Regions from separate parts of the Homo sapiens genome. Here regions 1, 2 and 4 are each linked to region 3. The links are contacts of gene promoters, found by promoter capture Hi-C in blood cells and fetal thymus (Javierre and others, 2016). All regions are on one chromosome and are shown on one strand. Each heading gives the region's core, a stretch centred on a gene start or on the middle of the fragment in contact. The rest is flanking DNA. Distances are from core to core; before and after follow the strand shown.

What was found. The method cuts DNA at HindIII sites, captures the fragments that hold promoters and counts their contacts. A CHiCAGO score of 5 or more calls a contact.
Region 1: a fragment that was not itself captured here is called in contact with the fragment with the promoter of OR13D1 in region 3 in 1 of 17 cell types (M2 macrophages); the score reaches 6.7 in M2 macrophages.
Region 2: a contact is called between a fragment that was not itself captured here and the fragment with the promoter of OR13D1 in region 3, in 1 of 17 cell types (M0 macrophages). The highest score is 5.4, in M0 macrophages.
Region 4: a fragment that was not itself captured here is called in contact with the fragment with the promoter of OR13D1 in region 3 in 2 of 17 cell types (M2 macrophages and M0 macrophages); the score reaches 12.0 in M2 macrophages.

Annotation. Positions count from the first base shown.
Region 1 is chr9:102,647,275-102,650,109 of GRCh38, forward strand. All of the region lies in intron 4 of LINC00587 (long intergenic non-protein coding RNA 587), which reads left to right. Among named protein-coding and RNA genes, the nearest start is that of LINC00587, 130 kb to the left of the region's middle. The HindIII fragment of the contact is 2,770 bases long and covers 1-2,717 here.
Region 2 is chr9:102,627,313-102,630,012 of GRCh38, forward strand. All of the region lies in intron 3 of LINC00587 (long intergenic non-protein coding RNA 587), which reads left to right. Among named protein-coding and RNA genes, the nearest start is that of LINC00587, 110 kb to the left of the region's middle. The HindIII fragment of the contact is 4,148 bases long and covers 1-2,700 here.
Region 3 is chr9:104,693,117-104,695,883 of GRCh38, forward strand. OR13D1 (olfactory receptor family 13 subfamily D member 1) reads left to right here and starts at 1,402. Exons shown (of 1, transcript NM_001004484.2): 1 at 1,402-2,346. The coding sequence starts at 1,402. The coding sequence ends at 2,346. All of the region lies in intron 1 of LOC107987105 (a long non-coding RNA gene), which reads right to left. The HindIII fragment of the contact is 5,977 bases long and covers 923-2,767 here.
Region 4 is chr9:101,980,847-101,983,546 of GRCh38, forward strand. No RefSeq gene overlaps it. Among named protein-coding and RNA genes, the nearest start is that of GRIN3A, 240 kb to the left of the region's middle. The HindIII fragment of the contact is 414 bases long and covers 1,119-1,532 here.

The DNA of each region.
Region 1 (2,835 bases), core at 83-2,582, 2.0 Mb before region 3:
TTGTGAAGCATATGATAGATATTTCATTCTTATAAAGGATTAATTGCAAATTAAGGTATATTTAAGTCTTAATAATATCAAACTTACACTTTACAATTTCACTGCTTTTGTATGTGATCTCATATATCTAATTTTCCTTGGTTTCTCTTTTAGTTTGTTTTTTTTTGTCCTAAACTGACATATTTAATATTTATTATCTTTCTCTGATTCAAAGAATTTGTTTTCAACATGCTAATGAAAAGGTGTGGTTTACATCAGTAAATTGTTCAGTTAGGAAAAATCCATCCTGTGAAAAATGTAATGAGAAAAAGTAGAGTAATCCTATAAAAACTGAAAAACATTATGATACACACATGAACACATACATGCATGCACATGTATCTGAGAAAATTTAATATAGACTGGAACTAGATAACAAGAAGTATATTTATATTTTAGATATAAAAATGACTGGTTATATACAAAATAGTATTCTTATACTGCAGATAACTTACTTACAAAATTCATTTTAATTAAAACCAGGAATTAGAATAATAGTAAAATATTTCATGCTAGAATTTTAGATTATGTTGGTCAGTTTTATTTATTCTCATTTTTGTTTTGTTTCTTATTTTTACATATGCCATTAAATGGAGGAAAGTATGACACAATGCTAGTAGTATCTTCAGGTAATTGTTTCAAAATTGGTTCTAGTGAATTAACGAAAGTATTTAAAATATTGAGAAACCTGTCATTATTTACTAATTCTATTTGGAATAACCTAGACAGCAATAAATCAAGCAAAATGTGCAGAACATCACAAAATGATTAACTCATTCTCTTCAATGAATTATATCACTCTTTTTGTGTACAGATTTTCCAGCATCAAATTAAATTTTAAAATAATTACACTGGTTATGAGATTGGTAAACATGCATTCTAAGGCATAGCTGTGCTATTTTCTGGCAATGTTCTCTTTGATAAATTACTTATTCAATCATTATTTATTTAATTGTAAAATAAACATACAGAACACTTGCTATTTCAACACATAACACTATTTCACTAGATAGGTTATTTTATTTAATTCTCTCAATATTGTAAGAAGCAAGGCATTGATAGCTTAATTTTATACATAATAAGATACCAAGAGTAACTCATTGTATGTGTGTGTGTGCACATGTAAATTATTGATATAATTTTAGACTTATAGAAAAGTTACAAAAATAGTGTATATAAATCATATATCCTTTATCCAGAGCCACCAATTATAAAGTTTCCCATTTATCATTATTCTCTTTTTTCTGTTTTCTCTCTTCTCTCACTTTCTTCCTCACTCTAAGAGTATATGATTTTGTGTATATATTTTAAAATCATTTGAGTGTAAGTTAGGAACATAGTACTCATTTATTCCTTAGTACTTCACTATGTATTTACTAAGATTGAGGTTTTTCTATTATATACCACAATATAGCTATCAAAATCAAGATATTTAATATAAATGCCATGCTATTATCCATATTAGATCCTGTATACAAATTTATTTTATTGTTCCAATATTGTGTTTTAAATTTCTTTTGTTTTTCCAATCCTGGAGCTAATCCAGAATCACTTACTGCATTTACCTGTTATCTTTCTGAGACATCTATTATATAAAACAGTTCCTCAGATCTTCCTTTTCTTTTATTGTAGAACATATTATAATTGAAAACATTAATAATTATATATGACATGGCAAATGTCAGGATAGCAGTTGTTGGTAAAATGGTTTGTTATAATTAAATGAGATGCTACATGTAGGAAACATTCAGTGAAACAATATATCAAAAATAGTCTATTAATTTATTCTAACAGTAGTATGTGTGATATACTAAAAAATTAACTAAAAATTAACTAAAAGCATTGACTATTTGGAAAGATATCCATTTAAATGGTTGAAATTATTTTAGAGAATAATTTCTATTCTTTACATTATCATTGATACATCATATTCAAAGTTGTGTTTAGATGTAATTAAAAGAGTAATCACCTGATTGACTAACCAACTAATATAATTAATTTTTCATCTCTTTACCTTTTGTTTTCTGTTTCTTTGAAGTTATGTTTGTCTTGAAATATAGTTTCTAATCACTTTTTGTAAAGTATCAATTCCACTGTGTCTTAGCTATGTGAGGTTGTTCAAGTTGTAATTTCCATTTTTATTCGTCACTTATTTAAATTGAGTCTAAGTGATAGTTCCTTTCCCCACGAGGAAGCGAATAGTAAATATTCAAATGGCATTCAAAATATTTGTTTAATTATTTATGAATTGCACCATTGGTTGTAAATTAAGATCAGATACTTAAGATGCACATATACATGAGTTAAAATCAAGTTACTAACTGTTTGCCTTATGGCAATTTGAGGCTCTTGAAATCCCCATTTCCTTAGTTGTAAAATAGAAATGATAATAATATCTATCTTATAGAGCTTTGGATATATTTAACTAAAGTAATGCACTTAAAGTGATTAGCCTGGTGTCTCAAAAATGGAAAGCGTTCAGCTGGATATTCCTATAGGCCACATATTTATGTTTTTTTTCTCTGTGAACCTCAGAGGATAGTTCAAAATAATTTTTTTAAACACTTAGAGCTGTGTAATAAGGAAATATATTGCCTGTGAATGCTCTACATTGAAAATAATAAGATTCTGTAAGAGGTACTAAAGAGTCTATTTCTCCAGTCAGGCTAAGCCCTCTAAGCTTTCTATTAAGACTTTTTTAACATTAGATTTTATGATGCTATGACTTTATGTTCAATATCTGAAGATTAGCTAGAGATCAGTTTAAGAGAATTTTCTTATCATAAAGTAGGCCCA
Region 2 (2,700 bases), core at 58-2,557, 2.1 Mb before region 3:
TTTTCATATATGTTTGTTGCTTCTTATGTCTTCTTTTGATAAACATCTATTCATGTTTTTTACTTGGTATTTGTTTTTTATAGATTCCGGATATTAGACCTTTGTCAGAAGCATAGTTTGTGAGTATTTTTTCTCATTATGTAGGTTGTCTGTTTACTCTTTTGATAGTTTCTTTTGCTGTGCAGAAGCTCTTTAGTTTAATTAGGTCCCACTTGTTGATTTTTGTTTTTGTCGCAAATGCATTTGGGGACTTAGCCAAAAATTCTATGCCAAGACCAATGTTGAGAAGGGTATTTTTTGGTTTTCTTCTAGGATTTTTAGAGTTTAGATCTTAAATTTAAAACTTTAATTCACCCTGAATTAATTTTTTGACTATAATGAAAGATAAGCAGTTTCATTCTTCTGAATATAGGTATCCAGTTATCCCAGAACCATTTCTTGAATAGGAAGTCCTTTCCCCATTGCTTGTTTTAGTTTGCCTTGAAGATCAGATGGCTTATTTCTGAGTTTTCTCTTCTGTTCCATTGGTCTATGTGTTTGTTTTTGTACTGGGACCATGCTGTTTTGGTTATTTTAGCCTTATGGTATAGTTTGAATTCAGGTAGTGTGATGCCTCTGTCTTTGTTCTTTTGCTTTGGATTGCTTTGGCTATTTGGGCTCTTTTTTGTTTTTATATGTTAGAATAGTTTTGCTAATCCTGTGAATAACATTGGTAGAGTGATAGGAACAGCATTGAATCAATAAATTACTTTGGGCAATATGATCATTTAAATAATATAGATTCTTATAATCCATGAGCATGAAATGTTTTTCCATGTTTTGTGTGTGTTGACTCTGATTTCTTTCACCATTGTTTTGTAGATCTCCTCGTGGAAATCTTTTATCTCCTTGGTGAGATACATTCCCAGGTCTTTTCTTTGTGGATATTGTAAATGAGATTGTGTTCTTGATTTGGTTCTCCCATGAATGTTACTAGTGTATAAAAATGCTACTGATTTTCATACATCGATTTTGTAGCCTGAAATTTTATAAAGTTATTTATCGATGCTAGTAACCTTTTGGCAGAGTCTTTAGGGTATTCTGGCTATAGAATCATACTATCAGTGAAGAAAGATAATTTGAGTTCTTTTTTTCCTATTTGGATGCCTTTTGTTTCTTTCACTTGCCTGATTGCGCTAACTAGAATATTGAGTATTATGTTGATTGGGGTGGTAAGAATGATCATCCTTATCTTGTTCCAGTTCTCAAGGGGAATGTTTCCAGCTTTTAGCTATTCAAAATGATTTTGACTGTGGATGTGTCATAGATGACTTATTTTTTTGAGGTATGTTCCTTGGATGCCTAGTCGATTGAGGATTTTTATCGTGAAGGTATACTGGATTTTATCAAAACTTATTTCTACATCTATTGAGATGACTATATCATTTTTGCTTTTGATTTGTATATGTGGTGAATTACATTTATTGATTTACATATGTTGAACAAGGAATAAAGTTTACTTGAACGTGGTGTTTTAACTTTCTGGTCTGCTGCTGGATTCATTTTGCTAGTATTTTACTGAGGATTTTTGTGTTTAGGTACATCAGGGACATGGGCCTAAGGTTTCCTTTTTTTGTTGTGTCTCTGCCAGATATTGGTATCAGGTTGAGGCTGGCTTCATATATTGACTTAGGGAGAAGCCCCTCCTCCTTGATTTTTTGGAATAGTTTCAATAGGATTGGTATCAGTTCTTGTAAGCCTGATACAATTTGGCTCTAAATCCATCTGTTTAATGGATTTTTGTTTGTTCGATTGGTAGGTTGTTTATTATTAATTCAATTTCAGAACTCAATATTGGTCTATTAAGGGTTTCAATCTCTTCCTGATGCAATCTTGGGAGATGGTATTTTTTCCAGGAATTTACTCATTTCCTCTAAATTTTACAATTTATGTGCATAGAGTTGTTTGCAGTATTCTCTGAAGATCTGTTGTAGTTTTCTGGTATGAGTTGTAATGTCATCTTTGTCATTTAACATTGCACTATTTGGATCTCTTCTGTTTTTGATAATCTAGCTATCATTTTTTTTTTGAAGGAACAACTCTTGGTTTAATCAATCTTTTGTATGGTTGTTTGCATCTCAATTTTTTCATTTCATCTCTAATTTTAGTTGTTTTTCTCCTGCTAGCTTTGGGGTTGGTTTGCTTTTTGTTTTCTAGATACTTTAAGTGTGATATTAGGTTATTGTGAGATCTTTGTAAGTTTTTGATATGAGCATTTAGCATTATAAACTTTCCTCTTAACATGGTTTAGCAGTGTCCCAGAGATTCCAATATGTTGTATCTTTGTTCTCATTAATTAAAAAATTCTTGATTTCTTTCTTAATTTTGAAGTTCCCTAGGAATTATTCAGGATCAGATCATTTAAATTCTGTATATTTGTGCAGTTTTGAGAGATGTCCTAATGATTACTATTTTTACTGTACTATGGTCCTAGAGTGTACTTGCTATGATTTAAAATTTTTTGTATTTATTGAGACTTGCTTTATGATCAAATATGTGGTCAATCTTAAAATACCTATCTTAAAATACCAATCTAAAATGTGTGCAGATGAGAAAAATGTATACTTTGTGATTTTTCAGTGGATTGTTGTGATGATGTCTATTAGGTCGAATTCATCTAGTGTTGCGTTTAAGTCCAGAGTTTCTTAATTTTCTGCCTCA
Region 3 (2,767 bases), core at 152-2,651:
TGTGGGAGGTGGAGGTTGCAGTGAGCTGAGATCGCGCCATTGCACTCCAGCCCAAGCAACAGAGCAAGATTCCGTCTTAAAAAAAAAAAAAAAAAAAAAAAACAGCGAGAGAAAAGAAAAGAAAACTGAGCAGACCACAATCAAAAGCTACAGGAAAAAGTAAGTGGTCCAGCCTTCAGAGTTCTCCATCACATCACATATGATCAGAATCACAAGTAAATGATGTTTGCTGTCTCACTGTACCCCAACAGAAGATACATTTTTGTAATAGTCTTCTCTTGCGTGGAATCTGTGTAGTAACCACTGAGAGAGAGTAGTGTATGGTGGGTAAAAGGGCTGATTCTATAGCCAGATGGCTAGATATTGAATTCTGGCTTTAGTATTTACTATCTGTATGACCTTGAGAAAGTTACTTAAACTTTTCTTTGTCTCTGTTTCCTACTTTGTAAAATGGCAGTAATACTACACTTAAGAAGAGAGAATCCCAGGGCCTGGAAAAAAAGCTGTACATGCTGGGACCTAGACTCCTTAATCTCTGGAAGCTTCTAGAACAGTCCTCCAATGATTCTCAGACTCCTAACAGGTTTTTGAAAGAAGTGCAATGAAATATCCCACTGAGAACAAAAATGTTCACAGTCTGTCAAGTGTGGTTTCAAACTTTAAACCTTTTACCTTTAAAAAGCTAAATCTACTTTTCCCTTTTAAGATTGGTAGATCTAAATATTATACTATAATTCATAAAATGCATGTGTATAAAAATACATTTAATATTATATCTTGTATAAGGTAAATATAATTATATTACATATATGCATACACACACACACACACACATATGCCATGTTGGAACCATTAGGTTCTAGGCACCTAATATTTTATCTAATTCTAACTATACTCTAAGAAATAATTATTGCTTTTTCCAAGCTTACTATGAACTATCTGCAACTCAGAAAAATAAACAACTTACCAAAGCTACATCCAGGTTAAATGATATGTCACTGGCAGTCTATAAAATCTTTTAAATAGAGGCCAGCTTCATCAAAAAAACAGCTTTAAGTTCAAAATCTCTTTCTACATTTGAAAGCAGCATGTTCCTAAACTTTATTTGACACTTCCCAGAATAATTCTGGCAGTATTGGTAGCTTTGAATGTGCTGCTGTGTAGTCCTAAGATATATTGGGTTTCTCAATGTCTCAATTTTCATAATCAATAAAACTAGTACAATATCCATACTGTTTTGCTTACTGAGAGTATTCTAAGAATCAAACACAATATCGGAAGCAAATTTGTATTGAAAATTTGTAGATGTACAGATTTACAGATTTTGATGTATCAAACATTTCAATTTACCTGAATCATGTCCTTTTCTATACTACCCAGCAGGCAGGTGACCTAGAACACATGGAGACAAGAAATTACTCTGCCATGACTGAATTCTTTCTGGTGGGGCTTTCCCAATATCCAGAGCTCCAGCTTTTTCTGTTCCTGCTCTGCCTCATCATGTACATGATAATCCTCCTGGGAAATAGCCTCCTCATTATCATCACCATCTTGGATTCTCGCCTCCATACTCCCATGTATTTCTTTCTTGGAAACCTCTCATTCTTGGACATCTGTTACACATCCTCATCCATTCCTCCAATGCTTATTATATTTATGTCTGAGAGAAAATCCATCTCCTTCATTGGCTGTGCTCTGCAGATGGTTGTGTCCCTTGGCTTGGGCTCCACTGAGTGTGTCCTCCTGGCTGTGATGGCCTATGACCACTATGTGGCCATCTGCAACCCACTGAGGTACTCCATCATCATGAACGGAGTGCTGTATGTGCAAATGGCTGCATGGTCCTGGATCATAGGCTGTCTGACCTCCCTATTGCAAACAGTTCTGACAATGATGTTGCCTTTCTGTGGGAATAATGTCATTGATCATATTACCTGTGAAATTTTGGCCCTTCTAAAACTTGTTTGTTCAGATATCACCATCAATGTGCTTATCATGACAGTGACAAATATTGTTTCACTGGTGATTCTTCTACTGTTAATTTTCATCTCCTATGTGTTTATTCTCTCTTCCATCCTGAGAATTAATTGTGCTGAGGGAAGAAAGAAAGCCTTCTCTACCTGTTCAGCGCACTCGATTGTGGTCATCTTATTCTACGGTTCAGCCCTTTTTATGTACATGAAACCCAAGTCAAAGAACACTAATACATCTGATGAGATTATTGGGCTGTCTTATGGAGTGGTAAGCCCAATGTTAAATCCCATCATCTATAGCCTCAGGAATAAAGAGGTCAAAGAGGCTGTAAAGAAAGTCCTGAGCAGACATCTGCATTTATTGAAAATGTGAAAAACCTTGGGCATGCGATATCCTCAATGGGGCAAGAGAGCTTGTCTTTTGTATTTAGATACTGCAAAACCTACTGTCACGAGAGCTTGTGTGTTTGCAAAACCAACTATTAGATTCCCATTCTTTTCAACGTAGAATTTTCATGCTCATGTAACCTTCTTAATAGTGCCTTGTCTGCTGGGTTTGTAGCTGTAAGCAGTTCTGCAAACTGGCCCTATAAAAATATTGATGCTGTCCATTAAAATGAATCTCTCTCTCTCACTCAGTCTCTCTCTCTGTCTGTCTCTCTTTCTTCTCTCTCCTGCCATGTGTGTGTCTCTCTCTACTCCTCTGATTTTGTCCTCTCTCTCTATTCTGCTACTCTCTCTCCTCTCCTCCGTATATTTTCTTTCTCTTCCTTTCTTTTCTGTTGTCTCCTTTC
Region 4 (2,700 bases), core at 76-2,575, 2.7 Mb before region 3:
TTATCTCTTTATCGCCAGCCAGACTTAAACTACTTAGAACTGACTTCATAACTGATTACTATTAGGAACAATGTTTGGACATGAATAATGTTAAAGGCACCATGAGGTGTCACAAGAATTACGTGCCTCTTGTGTCATGGCATCTCTGAATGCCATTTTATTTGCAGAGCTTTATGCTCCACAAATATTTGGTAGATACAGTACAGAAGTGATATAATATTTTTATAGACAATTCTGAATGAGTATAACATCATCTTACAGATTGGAGGAGAAAGACGTTTATTTATCTCACATGTCTGCAGCCAACTATTAATGTCTTTTCATGCTAGTAGACTTTTGTCTGTCCCCTTCTTGTATAATAATGGATTTGGTCAATATTAAAGAAAATTTAGACTATATTATTTTATAAAATTAAATGTTATTTGCAAGGCTTCCTCTGTTGAGGCTTACTGAATTTCTTGCTAATTCAGAGCTCCTTTCTATTTTTATAGCAATGTTCCCAGAGTGACAGCCTAAGCCGCATTCACATGATACATTTGTCAATGTCTAGGCTTGCCTTGAATGTTCACACTGTGTGCTAACTAGAAATTGATTTGAATATTGAACTACTTACAGGCATACTTCATTTTATTTTGCTTCACTTAATTGTGCCTCACAGTTATTGCATTTTTAAAACTAATTAAAGGCCATGGCAACCCTGGCAGGGCATCCAGCCAGTCTATCAGGACTATTTTTCCAATAGCATGTACCCACTTTGTATCTCTGTGTCACATTTTCATAATTCATGCAATATTTCAAACTTTTTAAAAAATTATTCTATCTCATGGTGATCTGTGGTCAGTGATCTTCAGTGTTACTGTTGTAATTGTTTTGGGGCTCCATGAACTGTGCCCATATAAGACAGAGAACTTAATAAATGTTATGTATGTTCTGACTGCTCCACTGGCCAGCTGTTCCCCCCTGTCTCTCTCTCTCCTCAGTCCTCTCTATGTCCTGAGGCACAACAATGATGAAATTGGGTCAATGAATAATTAGAGGCCCTACAATGGCCTTTAATTGTTCACAGGAAAGGAATTGTCATACATCTCTCACATACAATCAGAAGCTAGACATGATTAAGCTTAGTGAAAAAAGCATGTCAAAAGTTGAGATAGGCCAAAAGCTGGGCCTCTTGTGCCATGCTGTTAGCAAAATTGTGGTGGCAAAGGAAATCTTCTTGAAGAAAATTAAAAGTGCTACACCAGTGAACACACAAATGATAAGAAAGTGAAACAACTTTTGCTGTTTCAGTGAAATTGCTGATAGAATATTTTAGTGGTCTGGATAGAAGATCAAACCAGCCACTACACTCCCTTAAGCCAAAGCCTAATGTGGAGCAAGGCACCAACTCTTCAATTCTATCGAGGCTGCAAGAGGTGAGGAAGCTGCAGAAGAAAACTTTGAAGGTAGCAAATGTTAGTTCATGAGGTTTAAGAAAATAACCCGTCTTCATAACATAAAAGTACAAGATGATGGAGCAAGTGTGAAGTAGAAGCTTCAGTAAGTTATTCAAAAGATCTAGCTAAGATAATTGATGAAGGTAGCTACACTAAACAACAGATTTTTCATGTAGACAAAACAGCTTTATAATGAAAGAAGGTGCCACCTAGGACTAGCAAGATAACTAGATTTAGAAGTGGAGCCCAAAGATGTGACTGAATTGCTGAAATCTCATGATAAAACTTAAATGGATAAATTGCTTCTTATGAATTAGCAAAGAAAGTAGTTTCTTCAGATGGAGCCTACCCCCAAGTGAAGATGCCATACACATTGATGAAGTGACAATGAAGGACTTAGGATAATGTATAAATTTAGTTGATAAAGCAGCAATGGAGTTTGAGAGAAATGACTTCAATTTTGAAAGAAGTTCTACTGCAGTAAAATGCTTTTAACAGCATCCCATGCTCCAGAGAAATCTTTCATAAAAGGAAGAGTTAATCAGTGTGGCAAACTCCATTGTCTTATTTTTAAAAATTGCCACAATTACCCCAACCTTCAACAACCACCAGCCTGATCAGTCAGCAGCCATCACATAAATCCTCCACCAACAAAAAGATGATGACTTGTTGAAGCTCAGATGGTAATTAGCATTTTTGTAAGAAAGTATTTTTAAATTAAGGTATATGCATTTCTCGTTAAGATAGATATAATGTTATTGCACACTTAGTAGACAGACTAGAGTATAGTTAAATGTAACTTTTATATGCAATGGGAAACCGAAAAATTTCTGTGACCTTCTTTATTGTAATGTTCACTTCATTGTGGTGGCCTCAAACTGAACTCACAATATTTCCAAGGTACGCTTGTTCTTTCACAGGAAATACATCTGACTGGAGTCCATAATGCCTGTGGACCTCCAGAGCTAAAACATCAAAGCTACAGTGAAAGAGTGGTCTTTTCTTCACTGCTATGCCCTCAAAGGAGAAGGGACTTATCCTGAGGAAAGGGAGAGCTGAGGTGGACCGTTGTAGATAGAGACATCCCGTTGCTGAGACAATGGGAGTGTCGTCCAGCCTCCACACTGGTGTTGAAGCCAAAACGGCACCAACAAATTTAAAGGCAAGGAAAACTTTATTTATTTATTTACATGTTTTTGAGACAGAGCCTCACTCTGTCACCTAGGCTGGAGTGCAGTGGTGCGATCTCAGGTCACTGCAGCCT